2 separate regions of the Homo sapiens genome follow, and region 2 is linked to region 1. Evidence: promoter capture Hi-C in 16 types of primary human blood cells and fetal thymus (Javierre and others, 2016). All regions are on one chromosome and are shown on one strand. Each heading gives the region's core, a stretch centred on a gene start or on the middle of the fragment in contact. The rest is flanking DNA. Distances are from core to core; before and after follow the strand shown.

Region 1 (7,606 bases), core at 3,408-5,907:
ACTTGAGGTCAGCAGGCTGTTGGAGGAGTATTTTTTTTTCCCCAAGGTGACCTGTAAATCTGTTGTTTTGACAGGGAGGAGAGAAGGGTTTTGGTTTCCACCTGCCTATTCCCTCCACTGGTAATCTACTTATCTCGAGAGAGGAAGAGAAACCCCCTTAGCCTTCTGTGTCTGTGGCCCACACACTCTGTGAGCCTTTGCTAAAGCTAGCTTCCTTCTTATCCTCTCTGAGCCATTTGTAGTGGGGGGGTGGAGGGGTGGAGTCTTTCCCCAAAATTCAGGAAGAGCCCACCCCTCTGTGGAGTAAGGAAATCCAATGTAGACTGATGGATCTCACCCCCCAACTCTGCCCATTTTTCAGATCTCTTTCCTCCTCAGACCCCCAGAGGAAAACGTATTTGTTGACACCCCAACTTGCCAGAGTTTCATCATCCCCACTCTGTTGCTTTTCCAGAATATTCAGCAGCCTGAGCTTTGCACAGTTTAGGCAACTGTTTCTAGAACTGCATTGCATTGAATTAAATGGGAATTATCTTCAAGGCTGCAAAGTGTTGAGTTGCAAGGAAAGGAAACCTGGTTTCCTTTCTTGTCATATTTTATCCACTGTTTGACATTGAAGAAGTCATTGAACCTCTTTGGGTCTTAATTTCTTCATTTGATGAAGGAGAGAAGGTTGAACTAGAATTTTTTTTTTTTTTTTTTTTTGAGATAGAGTCTCCCTCTGTCACCCAGGCTGGAGTGCAATGGCGCGATCTCAGTTCACTGCAACCTCCACCTCCCAGGTTCAAGCGATTCTCTTGCCTCGGCCTCCTGAGTAGCTGAGATTACAGGGGCACGCCACCACACCCAGCTAATTTTTGTATTTTTAGTAGAGACCGGGTTTCATCATGTTGGTCAGGCTGGTCTTGAACTCCTGACATCATGATCCACCTGCCTCGGCCTCCCAAAGTGCTGGGATTACAGCCGTGAGCCACCGCGTCCGGCCTGAACTAGAAATTCTCTAAGCTCTAACATCATATGACACTGTTCTTCATCCTGGTGCCCTGCAGTGGACATTTTAGGTGACAGCCAAACTCTAGTCCTCTGCTAGATTTTACTTTTCTGAGTTTTCACACAGTTATGTAGCCCTGTCAGAAAAAAATTCCCAGAACCATAGAATGGGTGGACATTTGTGGCATCTTTTTGCTGATTAGTTTTCAGCTTATCCTTTACTTCTCTGACTGCATTTAGGCTACACTCAGGTCTTTGCTGTCTGGTTCCAGAGCCGAACCTTCTTTCCCCCACGCACAGGAATCTTTCCTTTCCGGTGACCAGGGCCCTGCAGATGTCGCCAGGAAAGTGGTGATCCAGGCAGGACCAGGCTGCACTGAAGGGACAGAGGTGAGTGGGTGGCTGACTCTTGCCTCTCCCCATCCCTTTACTGAATCGCGACCTGAGTGACTAACCTTTCTATTTCCACGTTTCCATTACCCTACCTGGGAAATAACTGCCCCCGAAATTCCCCTGACTCTTACCCCTACCAGCCTGTTAGAGAAGTGGCACCTGCCTTTGGGCCTAGACGTTTGGTCTAGTCTTTTAAGTTAACCTTGGGACTGTGGCATGCCTTTCAGTTTGCCCTGTGTGAAGCAGGACCACTGCCTCCATGAGATGCGGGTGCAGAGGGAGCTGCCAGGTGGGCAAGGTGGCCAGAGTTGCAGGAGGCACAGCGGCGCTAGGACCCAGGTCCGGGTCGGAAAGATGGGCTGGCGGGCTTTAGGACCCTGTGGCGGAGGCCGCGTGGGGAGACTCTCTCCCGGCCGAGGCTTCTCCGCCCCCTCCGGCTCCGACTCACTCCTCCCCCGCCGGCCATGTTGGCTCCTCTCGGGCCCCGCGGTTGAGCCGCGTCCCCCTCCCCCTTCCCGAACCCCGGACCCCAGACCCCCTCCCCAGCGGGCGTCTCCACCCGTTCTGGCGCCCGGAGCGCGGCCATGTGAACCGCTTGTACCCCGGGGAGAGACGAGCCCCGAGCCCGGCTGGACGCCGCTGCCTCAGGTTTGTGGGGTCTGTGGCCAGGGGCCTGAGGGGGAGGGAGCCCCGCTTTCATCCGAGGCTTCCCTCGGGGAACAGAAGCTCCAGAGCCGGCTTGAGCCTTGCCGGGGCGGGAAGCCGACGGGAGCTTATTTCCTGCGAGGATCCAACCCGAGGCGAGGGTCTCCTTGCTCTGGGGTCTGGGAGGAGAACAGGGCTGGTGGGGCTGCTGAGGACCCCGGACGGGGCCGCGGGGGCAGGAGGAGCTGTAGGGGCTCCCGGCGACAGTGAGGAGGCGGAGAAGCCGCCTGGCTGGTGGAGATGACTCCTGTGGGGGACTTGGGGTGGAATCCCCGGGAGGGGCTCCACCTCCTCGGGTGGGGGTGGGGATTGCCTGAGCGCGAGGGGTGGGTGAGGGGGTTCCCTTGGCGGGTTAAAACGCTCCGTTTGCGGGGAGCTGGGCGTTTTGACTGTGGTGAGTGGAGGGCGGAAGGGGTTTCCAGGGGTCTGAGGGTGTCTCCCTCGGGGAGCGCACCCATTCTCTTGAGCGTGAAGATCAGGAGAGGGCCTTCCTTGCTGAGGGTGGTGCTGCGCTTGGCTTGGGGCCCTCGCGTCCCGGGAGAATCGCGCACTCCGGGGATGGAGGTTGATAGGGCTTCCGCTGAGGCTTTCCAATTTGAGCTGGGCTGAGGGGCAGAAGGGAAGAATAAAGAGGAATTCCTTTTTCCAAGGAGATTCCTCACTGAGGGGATCCCCGCTTCCGTGGCAGAAAGATGATACCGCATCATCCCTTTCTTTCCCGGTGTTCCCAGTTTTCAGGAGAAGGCAATGTCAATAGCAGTTGTCCTTTGTAGGGTTAATTGGAGTGAGAGATTTGTCTGCTTTGGGGGACGACGGAGGGGATAGCTTTCCACCTCTATCTGTACACAAACAGCCCCTCCCCCAGCCTCCCGCAGGAAGTGGCCGGGAAATGGCAGCTGTGCGTTTGCTGCTGCGTGTCTTGTTGTTTTGAAATGTCCATTTTAATCAGATTTGGTTTCATTTTCTGAAGCCTTCTGGGCAAGCTTGGATCTTGCCAACCATGTGGCCCGAGAGACCTTTCGTTGGACTTTTTTTTTTTTTGTAAACTTGTCAACTGGAAGTAGTCAACTTCAGTTGACTCACGTATCCCAATCCCTTCTCCAGAACATCTCTGTCTTCCTGTCTGGTTTCGTTTTGTTTTCCCTTTAGCTAGAGGTCATAGAGAAGCAAACTCAGTTATCTACCAGCGGGGTACGCTCTATGTAAGTGATGCAAATTCCCTCAGCATAGAGAGCTGTCAGGGAGACTAGAGAGCTTTTGTGGCACGAGTAGCTTCTTGGGGTCCTACTTTAGTATAGTTATTATGACAGTTTCTATATTGCAGAGCACCTGAGCAAGTGAGCTTGTGAAGAAGGGTAGATTCTAAGAAATGGACGAAGAGGAAGGGGTGAGGAAGATTTAACTATTAGATGGATTTGTGTGTCGGGGGTAGGGACTGATTAACAGACTGAGATTGGTGAACTCAGTCCTTGGTGGTGATTCTAGCCTAAGGGCAGCCCCTGTGGGAAGCTTGTTATTTGACTAAGGGGTGCTGGAGATACTACCTTCTGCAGAATCAACTAATTAGAATAGTACAGTTTGTTATCATATGACTTACTCTTTAATCCATAAAAGAACGTCTCCCCTCTTATTCTTCTTGGAGATTGGTAAGCTTTTCCTCTGTTCCCTGCAAAGTCGTGCCCAGATTTTTTTTTTCTTTCTTTTCACTTGATAATCCCAGGATATTTCTCCTGTAACATATAGTGATGGACTGTGTGCTATGTCCCCAGGCATTTTGTGGCACACTGGATTTGGTTAGGGGCAACAGTTGGCCACAGAATTTTATTTTTCTTTCTTTTCTTTTTCTTTTCTTTTTTTTTCTTTCTGTCTTTTTTTTTTTTTTTTTTTTTTGAGACGGAGTTTTGCTTTTGTCGCCCAGGCTGGAGTGGTGTGATCTTGTCTCACTGCAACCTCTGCCTCCCGGGTTCAAGCGAGTTGCCTGTCTCAGCCTCCCGAGTAGCTGGGATTACAGGAGCCCGCCACCGCATCCAGCTAATTATTTTATTTTTAGTAGAGACGGCGTTTCATCATGTTGGCCAGGCTGGTCTCGAATTCCTGACCTCAGGTGATCTACCCACCTCGGCCTCCCAAAGTGCAGGGATTACAGGTGTGAGCCACCATGCCTGGTCTTCTCTTCTTTTCTTTTTTTTCTCTTCTCTCTCTCTTTTCTTTTCTCTTTCTTTCTTTCTTTTTTTTTTTTTTTGAGACAGGGTCTCACTCCGATGCCCAGGCTGGAGTGCAGTGGCGCCATCATAGCTCACTGCAGCCCCGACCTCTTTGGCTCAAGTGATCCTCCCACCTCAGCCCCCTGAGTAGCTGGGACCACAGACACGCACCACCACATCCAGCTAATTTTTTGTAATTTTTGTAGAGGTGGGGTTTTGCCAGTTTGCACAGGCTGGTCTTGAACTCCTGGGCTCAAGTGACCTGCCTGCCTTAGCCTCCCAAAGTACTGAGATTACAGGCATGAGCCACCATGCCCGGCCTATGACCCCAGGACCACAGGATTTTAGATTTTGAAAGATAAAGTTTTGTTTTTTTCTTTTTCTTTTTTTTTTTTTTTGAGATGGAGTCTCGCTCTGTTGCCCAGGCTGGAGTACGGTGGCACCATCTGGACTCACTGCAACCCTCGCCTCCCAGGTTCAAGCGATCCTCCTGCCTCAGCCCTCCAGTAGCTGGAATTACAGGCATGCGCCACCATGCCTGGCTAATTTTTGTATTTTTAGTAGAGAAGGGGTTTCACCATGTTGGTCAGGCTGGTCTCGAACTCGAATTGAGCCTCCCAAAGTGCTGGGGTTACAGGCATAAGCCACAGGGCCAAGCCTTGAAAGATAACATTTTCAGATTATTTGGACTATTCTGAAAACTACGTAAGCCTGTCATTTAAATCATCTTTTCACTATTTATTTTCCAGGCAAAAACCCCTCCCACCTAGATGAAGATCCCTAGATTAAAGATCCAGTATGGGAGCAGATAGACACTTATGATTGTGTGAAAGTGGCATCATCACTAGTAAGATAGCAGCATCATTGCTCTTCTCACTGGGGCTGTTGGGGTTTTTGATATTCTGGAAACAGTAAAAACAAGTCCATCTGATGTCAGCATCCTTTTTCTTGCCCCTGATTAGTTCCTTTAAGTTGCTGTCTGATGGGGTTGATTTGATGCTGATTTTAAGTTCCCCTTTCTTCAGCCTTTGCTTACCTGAATTGGCACTTGACAGAACAGCAAGTTGATTTTCCCTGTTGGGGGTTAAAAGAGTAAAGAAAGGAGAGATAACTACTCTTGAGTCTTTGGACTTTTAAAAGAAAAGCTGATTTTGAGAAAATAGTGATTTCATTTGATACATGATTGAATTGGGAGCTGAATGAAGCAAACCTTTCATGGCCTTCTTATAAAATGGGTGCATTTTTCTGTCAGAGAAATATATTTCTTAATATTTCAAGCTTCTCGATGAAAGAAAAAATCTGAGGTGTAAAGAGAGCTGTATGGGCTGACCCCAGAGCCAGTCTAGAATGAAGGGTTCATCTTGTAGTCTTGCGGCTCTGGAATCAAGTATTACTGGGAGAGAAGCAAAGCTTGTTAGGGTTACTGACAGTGTCTTCCTGCTGTTGACCTTTCTTGTCACCACTGAAGAGGTCAAGCACCAAACTGCTATTTTTACTGCTGAAACAGTATAGAAGTTAGTCATTGATAATGATGTTTGACCTTGTGTAAGATGTATCAAGAGCAGCAATAATGCCAAGTATAAAATTTGAGATAATTCCTGGGGTAAATAACCTTCTTGGTTTGTTTCTTAGGATGTTGGTGTCCTCATATGCCTTATATATAGCCCAAGATGAATAGTTTCTCAGTATTATCTCATGTGGGTCAGTAGGACTATTTTTCACCAGCTTGTTATTATCAGTCTGCCTAATTTGGAAATTTAAAAAATTGTGCAAAACAAAAAAGCCCATCTTTGAAGATATCTGATACTTTGAAGATACTGTCACTAGCAGTAAAAGTAGCATTGGCTTAGTGTTTTGTCTTTTCTCCTCTTTAAAGAGAACAGTTATTATGGGGGCATTTTGCAGACTAAAATACTGTAATCTTGCCAAAAATTTACCAAAGAAAGGAAGAAGTTTTTTGTTGTTGTTTTTTTTTTTTTTTTTTTTTTGAGACGGAGTTTCGCTGTGTCGCCCAGGCTGGAGTGCAGTGGCGCGATCTCGACTCACTGCAAGCTCCGCCTCCCGGGTTCACGCCATTCTCCTGCCTCAGCCTCCCGTGTAGCTGGGACTACAGGCGCGCGCCACCATGCCCGGCTAATTTTTGTATTTTTAGTAGAGACGGGGTTTCACCGTGTTAGCCAGGATGGTCTCGATCTCCTGACCTCATGATCCGCCCGTCTCGGCCTCCCAAAGTGCTGGGATTACAGGCGTGAGCCAAGAAGTTTTTAAAAGATAGATGGTCTTCCTACTTTTAGTCTTTTGAGGTTGGACTCTGTAACCTGCCTCATGAATGGGGTCCTTAACCTGCCTGCTTAGCTCATATTTGGGGGTGGAAAGGGTGGAGTCCTTAACTGTTAGAGTTTAAATTCTGGCTGGGCACGGTGGCTCAGCCTGCAGTCGCAGCACTTTGGGAGGCTGAGGCGTGCGGATCACCTGAAGTCAGGAGTTCAAGACCAGCCTGACCAACATGGTGAAACCCTGTCTCTACTAAAAATATGAAAATTAGCCGGGTGTGATGGTGGGCGCCTGTAATCCCAGCTACTTGGGAGGCTGAGGCAGGAGAATTGCTTGAACCGGGGAGATGGAGGTTGCAGTGAGCAGAGATCGTGCCACTGCACCCCAGCCTGGGCAACAGAGCCACACTGTCTCAAAAAAAAAAAAAAAAAAAAAGAAATTCTAAGAAACAATCAGAGCTGAAAGAGGGAAATTACCTTAATATAACCTCTGGACTGTGGCTTTTAGTGTCCTGCAATTTCAGAGGCATTCCTGGTCTTCTGAGAGTAAAGTGACTGGAAATGTGGCAGAAAACTTAACCTGTAGTTTCTTTAATTAACAAATATATAAAAACCTATTATATGCCTCAAGTGTTCAGTTAAACCAAGTAGAATGTTTTATTAATTCAGAGCTTACGTTTATTTATTTTTTTATTTGGTTGAAAACGGTGGTGTGATCATAGCCCACTGCAGCCTCCAGGTCCTGGACTCAAATAATCCTCCCACCTCAGCCTCCGGAGAACCTGGCACTACAGGCATATGCCACCATGCCTAGCTAATTTATTGGCTTTTTACATTATCAGTACTTCCCTATTTTCAGGCCTTATTTTCTTCAAGGAATGGCTATTTAAGTACGTCAAGATTTGAGGCCTTTCTTCTCTCTTGAAATTTTTATCTCTGTGAAGAATGAAGCTGAGTTTTTTTTTTTTTTTTTTGTTCTCTGAAAATAGTAAGAGCAAAGCCCATGACCTTCATTGGATAAGTAAGCTGGTAGTGGCAGAA
Region 2 (7,606 bases), core at 2,287-4,786, 370 kb after region 1:
CTCTGCCTTAACCAAGTTGACTGCTACAGAATCCCCAAGGTCCAACAGGCCTACCAAGCCAATTTGCTTACTGTCCCCTACTAATTGGTTTAACTAATTACTGCCATTTAAACTTTCCTAGTTTAGTCCCTATACTTGAAACAACCGATTTCTTCCCATGTCTCCACCATTCTACATCAATAACTTCCTTCAAGTACTGACTCAAAACACACCTCCTCCAGGAAGACCCTCTTGACTGAACCCTTCCTTCAACATTACTCTGAACACATAATGCCATGTAATCTAGCATGTATCCTATATTCTGTAGTTGTTTCACATGTATATGTATGTTCATCTACTAAGTTATAAGCTCCTCATAAAGAGACACCATTACTTCTAATTTTTGACCTCCCGACCAATTAGTACAGGGCTGTACATCGGGTGAGTCCTCACATTTAGTCAGAAGAAGGAAAACTGAGGCTTAAAAATAGGCAGCCATCTGTCTAGAGTTACCCAAATATGAATGCTTGTAGTTCAATCCAGAAGGACTGTCCATATAAGAAGGTTTTATCACCACTTCTGGCCTCCTCCTCCCATACCCTGTGTGTCTCCCTGAGCCCTGAAAGTATCAGTGTTCCCTACATCAAATCCCTTTTTTTCCTACTGGGAAATCCTCTTTTGATGCTCTAAATAATATTAAAAATAACTCTTCTAGCCCGTCCTCCTCCCTCCAATTGCCCAGAGAACCAGGCTGGCAACCTCTCTTGTTCACCTCCATCCCCTAGCCAGAACCGGGCACGTGACCCCAGCTGAACCCCTGACTCCAATTCCTCAGGTTACCTAGAGTTATTTTGGGCAATGGATACCATGTATGCCCCTCCTCCTTATCCTCTGGGCCATATCCTAGTTTAGCCCTTCCTGGAAGGCCCATCATACCCAATAGCCAAGTCCCAACACCCATATCCATTTGATCCTTTGCTACCTTTGGTTTCTGCTGCTGCTTCATCATCATCATCAGTCATCAAATATTAAATGCCTGTTTCTCTATACTGATATTCTGGAGCTTAAAAAAAACTATACCTGGCTGGGCACGGTGGCTCACGCCTGTAATCCCAGCACTTTGGGAGGCCGAGGCGGGCGGATCACGAGGTCAGGAGATTGAAACCTCCTGGCTAACATGGTGAAACCCCATCTCTACTCAAAGTTAGCCGGGCATGGTGGCAGCACCTGTAGTCCCAGCTACTGGGGAGGCTGAGGCAGGAGAATGGCATGAACCCCAGAGGCGGAGCTTGCAGTGAGCCGAGATCCCGCCACAGCACTCCAGCCTGGGCGGCGACAGAGCGACACTGGTCTCCAAAAAAAAAGGTGAAATGAGAAACAAAGGTGTACAATTTAACCAGATTGTGGCAGTATAAACTAAGTATGTAAGTGTTAAGGAGAACTAACAAAAGGAAAAGAGCCTATTAGCCAGAGGAGACTTCCTGGAAGAGGTAAGTTTAAATTTCTTCATAATTTTTGTGTGTGCATGGAATCACGGAGTGATTGCTCCTAAGCAATATTTTAACTTTTATTTTCAATATGGTAAAAATTTAAAAAATTCCAAAAGGTATATAGTGATAGGTAAATTTCTCTCTCATTCCTTATTTCCTGTACCCCAGTTTTTCTTTCTGGGAAAAAAGGACTGTTACTAGTGTCTTAAGTATCTTTCTAGCAGGAAAGCAAGGGAAGGCTTTTTTTTTTTTTTTTTTTTTTTGACATGGAGTCTGGCTCTGTCACCCAGGCTGGAGAGCAGTGGCTCCATCTCGGCTCACTGCAACCTCCGCCTCCTTGGTTCAAGTGATTCTCCTGCCTCAGCCTCTCCAGTAGCTGGGATTACAGGCGTGCACCACCACACCAGGCTACTTTTTTATATTTTTGGTAGAGATGGGGTTTCACCATGTTGGGAATGGGAAGGCTTTTTTTTTTTTTTTTTTTTTTTTTTTTTGAGACGGAGTCTCGCTCTGTCGCCCAGGCTGGAGTGCAGTGGCGCAATCTCGGCTCACTGCAAGCTCCACCTCCCGGGTTCACGCCATTCTCCTGCCTCAGCCTCCCAAGCAGCTGGGACTACAGGCGCCCGCCACCCTGCCCGGCTGATTTTTGTATTTTAGTAGAGACGGGGTTTCGCTGTGTTAGCCAGGATGGTCTCGATCTCCTGACCTCGTGATCCACCCGCCTCGGACTCCCAAAGTGCTGGGATTACAGGCGTGAGCCACCGCGCCCGGCCGGGAAGGCTTTTTTGAAATGTATTTTCGCCGGGTGCGGTGGCTCACGCCGGTAATCCCAGCTCTTTGGGATGCCGTGGCAGGTGGATCACCTGAGGTCAGGAGTTCGAGACCAGCCTGACCAACATGGTGAAACCCCCGTCTCTACTAAAATAAAAAATTAGCCGGGCAGGGTGGCGGGCGCCTGTAGTCTCAGCTACTTGGTAGTCTGAGACAGGATAATCACTGAACCCGGGAGGCGGAGGTTGCAGTGAGCCGAGATCGTGCCACTGCACTCCAGCCTGGGGGACGAGAGTGAAACTCCATCTCAAAAAATAAAATAAAATGTATTTTTATTTTTTAATTTTTTTCCTCTCCCCTCAAGGGAGGATTTTTATATATAAAGCCTTGACAGGACGCCAGCATGCTGCACTTCGTCCATTTCGTGTTCTCTTCAATGTGTATTGAGTTGTGAAACTCTGAACAGGACCCTGGATCACCTTTTATAAATTGTATCAATTTTTCAATCTCCACTTTTCGTCTTCCTCCTTTTTCCGTTTCTGGGTTGAGATGACCTCCATTCATTTCTTCTCTAATTGACGGCTCTCTGGCCTCTCCATTGGAGGAGGGGAAGCGCCACAGGCTGTTCTGGGGAGAAATTGTTGAGTGTTTTCCACTTTAACCTTGCAATGGAATCAGTAAGGAGTTGGAAAATGCCCCTTCTGTTGGTCTTGGCGGCCTTTTCCAGCTGCCAGTTGTCATGGCCTCTTTGTGGGTGTTTTCTGCAGTAGAATCCTCCTTGGGGTTTCTCTGCAGTTTGAGCACTTTTGCTATTTCTTCTCTACCGAACTCACGCCTCCGCCAGTGGAGATACACGCTTTCCCTCCCTCTGGGGCTATTGCCATACATAATTCCCAGTTCTCCACCCGCCAGTTCCTCCTAGTCTGTGGGGGATTTCGGGGTGTGGAATCGCTGACGGGAGGAGTTAGCTCGGGCGGGAGCATTGTGGGCTGGGTAAGATCTGGCCAGCCGTTCGGTCCTCAGTTTGGGAAGCACCGCGGGACTAAGGCCCAGGTTTCCGCTAGGGTCTTGTGGGGAACCCCTTGGGCCGCCAGACTGGAGCGGAGAGCACAGCGCGGCCAGCTGCGTGAGCCGGGGAGCCGGCGCGCGAGTTCGGGGGTGCAGGGGCTGCTGGGGCCGCCAGGGTGGGGCGGAGGGCGCTGCGGCCGGGGTCCGTTTGCGCGGGGAGCGCCGGGACCAGGACGGCCGCCAGGGAGCGCTGCGGCCTCCAACTCGCCCGCCCCCCGGTAGGCGGGGCCGCGCTCTCCCTGCAGCCGCCACCGCAGCCGCCGCCTGGGCCGCTCCGTGTCCCCGGTGGAGCCGCCGCCGCCGCCGCCGGGAGCTCGATGCGGACGGAGCCCGGGCCGAGCCATGGGGATCCTCAGCATCACGGACCAGGTCAGCCCTCCTGCCCTTTCCCGCTTCCTCCTTCCAGGGCTCGGCGCTGCCGTCACGCGAGCCCGGGGATGTGCGGCCTAGGCTGGGCCTGAGCCCGGGGCTCCCGCAGCTCCCGCCCCGCCCCATGCCGCGCTCCCCTCAACCGAGCCGGTGTCCTTGGGGACCTGGCAACCGGCGGAGGCACCGCGGGAGCTCGCTCCAGCCAGAATCCCTAGAGTGGAGCCCCTCCACGGACGCCCCCCACTCAAACCTAGGTGCTCCCCCACCCCCACCCCCACACCGGTTCCGCTCCGGCTCCAGCCCGCTCTCAGAATGCCGGTTCTCTCTGCAGCCGCCCCTGGTCCAGGCCATCTTTAGCCGAGATGTGGAGGAAGTGCGTTCCCTACTCTCGCAGAAGGAGAACATCAATGTGCTGGTGAGTTGGGAGCAGGGAGGATGGCGAGACCGGAATCCTGGCTCCCGTGTTCTGGACCCCTCCCCACCGGTGGGGCGGCTCCGTGTCTCCTCTGCTCAGATGAGGCCGCAGTTCTTTCCATCCTGGAGTGAAAGCCTACTCTGCATTTGGGGATGGAGAGCAGGTCAGGCTTGAAGCCCAGATCACTTGGGCTGGGAATGCCCAGGAACGTTGTTCTCTTCTCAACCTCCGGAGTCTGCAGCGCCCCCACCCCTCCTGGAAAAAGGAGCCGGCTTCTCAGCCCATTGGCCCTGACTCCACCCTCCCTAGGTGCTTGCCTTTGACTCCCAATACCGGGACTTAGGACGCTGCAGAAACTATGGGAAGAGGTTGTGGGGAAGGGCCTGGAGCTCTGAGACTTGGGCTGGGGTCCTTGATAGCCCCCTTACCCCGCGCCCATACTCCCTGCTCTTTTTTGCCTTCCCAGGACCAAGAGAGGCGAACTCCATTGCATGCTGCTGCCTACGTAGGCGATGTCCCCATCCTCCAGTTGCTACTGATGTCAGGTGAAAGTGGGGAGCTGGAAGGTGTGGCACATAGGGAGCGAAGGGAGGGGAGGAGTCTTTTTTGATATTCAAGGATTGCTCTCCCCGGCTTGGTCCAGGCGAGGCTCCAGCTCCATTCAGATTTCCTGGCCTGATTACTGGCTTCCTTCATACCTCCTCCCCACCTTCCATCAAAATAGGAAATTATATCCCCACAGGTGCTAATGTCAATGCTAAGGACACACTGTGGCTGACCCCTCTTCATCGTGCTGCTGCCTCCCGAAACGAGGTATGCACCCCCACCTTCTATTACCCTTTCAAAAAGGATAAGTTGCTTAAAGGTGGGGGTTAAGGGTTAAGGAGCCTCAGTCCTCAGCCCTACAAGCTGTTCTACCCCAGGTAGTGAGGAGATCAAATCTTGGCCCCTTCCTCCTACCCCTAGAACTGGCCAGTAAGGGGGTTGAGTGCTGCCAGCTGATGTGACTCAGGAAGAGCTTAACACTGGGCTGGCAGACTGCGGGGGCCCTGCTGCCAGGCCTGAGTGACTCATCCCTCCCTGGGGGGCCACCTTGAGTCTGATCCCCCTCTGGGCACTGAGATTTCTTTTCCTTGTGATGGAGGATGGGTATAGTAATCTGTTGCATCCTTGGCCCTCAAGCAGCTTGAAAGTTGACAGCACAGGGGCCAAACATATTTCATCAGTTGGGTCCTTTATCCTATTCCCATCAGCCCTGAAGACAGGGAAAGGGGGACCTCCTCCTCAGTTCATCACTTCCCTGGCTCCAGCCACCAGGGGGAGGGGCCGAGGCCAGTGGGAATGAGGTGGGTGGTGGTTAGGAGGGGCATTTTAGCTCGGGTTTTGCAAACGAACCAGTATCTGTTTGCTTACTGAGATACTGAAAATAATTTTGGTGCCTATGAGAAGGCTAAAGAGGGTGTTCAGGGCAAGATGTAGCAAGAGCATTTAGTTTTCCTAGAAGTAGTAGGGGGTTGGGATGTGTGGATCTCCACATGTGGATTTGTTTGGGAATGGATGTATGTGTGAGTGAAGATTTTCAGGGTCTAAGTTGGCGAGTCAGGTGGCTTGAAGAAGAGCAAAGGGTCCTTGTTTTAATCAGCAAGGTAAGGAAGAGCTTAAGTTCTAAGAAGATCCAGAAGATGGAAAGTAGGTATTCAGAGGCTAGGTATGTTGGAAAAATGAGAAGAGATTCTGTGCTGGGGAAGGGGCTGTAGATGCTATGCTGACCTATTCCTCCTTCCATTTCCTGTTGTTTTACCTCCTGCTCCCACTCTCTCTTTTGTCCCCTGCCCCTCAACAGAAGGTGCTGGGGCTGCTGCTGGCACATTCAGCAGATGTGAATGCCCGGGACAAGCTGTGGCAGACACCACTGCATGTGGCTGCTGCCAACCGGGCCACCAAGTGTGCTGAGGCTCTGGCACCCCTGTTGAGCAGCCTCAACGTGGCTGACAGGAGCGGGCGCAGTGCTCTGCACCATGCAGTGCATAGTGGGCATCTTGAGGTGAGGACTGTTCCCATCCAGGCCCAGCTGGGGCTTTCCCTTTTCTTACCTTCCTACTCACGTTTCCCTGCTTCTGGGCCCTCAAGCCTGAAGGAGAAGCAGCCCGGATGGTTATATAAACACTTAAGCTGAAGCACTAAATGAATGGTCAGACTAGATTAAAATTCTTAACTTGGACTTCAGGAGGTTGATAAAACCTTGGATTTTGCGTGGAAAATATTTGCATACACGCCTTTCTGAAGAGAGTCCATGTCTTTCAGCACATTTGCAAAGACTTACAAGAGTTTAAGAACCGGCCGGGCACGGCGGCTCACGCCTGTAATCCCAGCACTTTGGGAGGCGAAGGCGGGTGGATCATGAGATCAGGAGATCGAGATCATCCTGGCTAACATGGTGAAACCCTGTCTCTACTAAAAATACAAAAAATTAGCCGGGTGTGGTGGCGGCCGCCTGTAGTCCCAGCTACTCGGGAGACTGAGGCAGGAGAATGGCGTGAACCCGGGAGGCGGAGCTTGCAATGAGCCGAAATCATGCCACTGAACTCCAGCCTGGGTAACAGAGCGAGACTGTCTCAAAAAAAAAAAAAAAAAGAGTTTAAGAACCACCAGATCACCTGAAGAGACTCTCTTGTTTCCCTTAAAGTTCCAAATCTCTCCAGTATCTCCTCCTTAGTGCCTGCTTCTGCTGTTCCCTCGAGTCCTCCAGGTTGTTTTGCTCATGGAAAAAGGCATTAGGCTGCCTCAGCCTTTTCAGGAGATGAGGCCTCTGCTCTTAGGTAGGTTGAGGGCACGAATCTAGCTCTGAACAGGTGTCTTTCATATCCTGATGCAGACGGTGAACCTGCTCCTCAACAAGGGAGCCAGCCTGAATGTCTGTGACAAAAAGGAGCGGCAGCCTCTGCATTGGGCAGCTTTTCTAGGTGAGAGAGAATACACGGGAAAATCAGAAATTTGACATTTAGGATTCCTAGGGCAGGGATGTGGGGTTGCAGCCTTTGAAGAGAGGAGTGTAGGGTCTTAGAGTTTACCTTCTACTTCCTTTAGAGTGTCTTCTCTTTTCTCAGGGCACTTGGAGGTCCTAAAACTGCTGGTGGCACGGGGAGCAGACCTCGGCTGCAAGGACCGCAAGGGCTATGGGCTGCTCCATACAGCTGCTGCCAGTGGCCAGATTGAAGTGGTGAAGTACCTGCTTCGGATGGGAGCGGAGGTCAGGGCTTTGAGCTCTGGGGTTGGGAACTATGGGCAGCAAGTAGGAGATTATAGTCTGTTACGGAGATATGAGGTATTGGGATGTTGGTATAGTTTTGGGAAGTTGGAAGGACGTGGTAGAGAGGGTCTGAATAATGCTTACCTTAGCCATAGTGCCCTTAGTACCTTAGTACCTTGGGTCATAAACCCGAGAGGAAATGAGGCAGTCGTTGGATTTCTGGGATCTGGAGGCTACATGTGCTGGCTTCTACTTTGTTTAAAC

The links. The method cuts DNA at HindIII sites, captures the fragments that hold promoters and counts their contacts. A CHiCAGO score of 5 or more calls a contact.
Region 2: a contact is called between the fragment with the promoter of ANKRD52 here and a fragment that was not itself captured in region 1, in 1 of 17 cell types (M1 macrophages). The highest score is 5.2, in M1 macrophages.

What each region holds. Positions count from the first base shown.
Region 1 is chr12:56,624,550-56,632,155 of GRCh38, reverse strand. BAZ2A (bromodomain adjacent to zinc finger domain 2A) reads left to right here and starts at 1,830. Exons shown (of 29, transcript NM_001300905.2): 1 at 1,830-2,031. RefSeq lists enhancers at 1,524-1,593, 1,624-1,673, 4,452-4,953 and a silencer at 1,894-2,243. The HindIII fragment of the contact is 1,831 bases long and covers 3,742-5,572 here.
Region 2 is chr12:56,254,314-56,261,919 of GRCh38, reverse strand. ANKRD52 (ankyrin repeat domain 52) reads left to right here and starts at 3,536. Exons shown (of 28, transcript NM_173595.4): 1 at 3,536-3,677; 2 at 4,009-4,092; 3 at 4,559-4,637; 4 at 4,835-4,905; 5 at 5,936-6,136; 6 at 6,968-7,055; 7 at 7,200-7,342. The coding sequence starts at 3,651. RefSeq lists silencers at 3,278-3,337, 3,348-3,897, 3,918-3,987 and enhancers at 4,048-4,097, 4,178-4,227, 4,534-5,526. The HindIII fragment of the contact is 14,479 bases long and covers 1-7,606 here.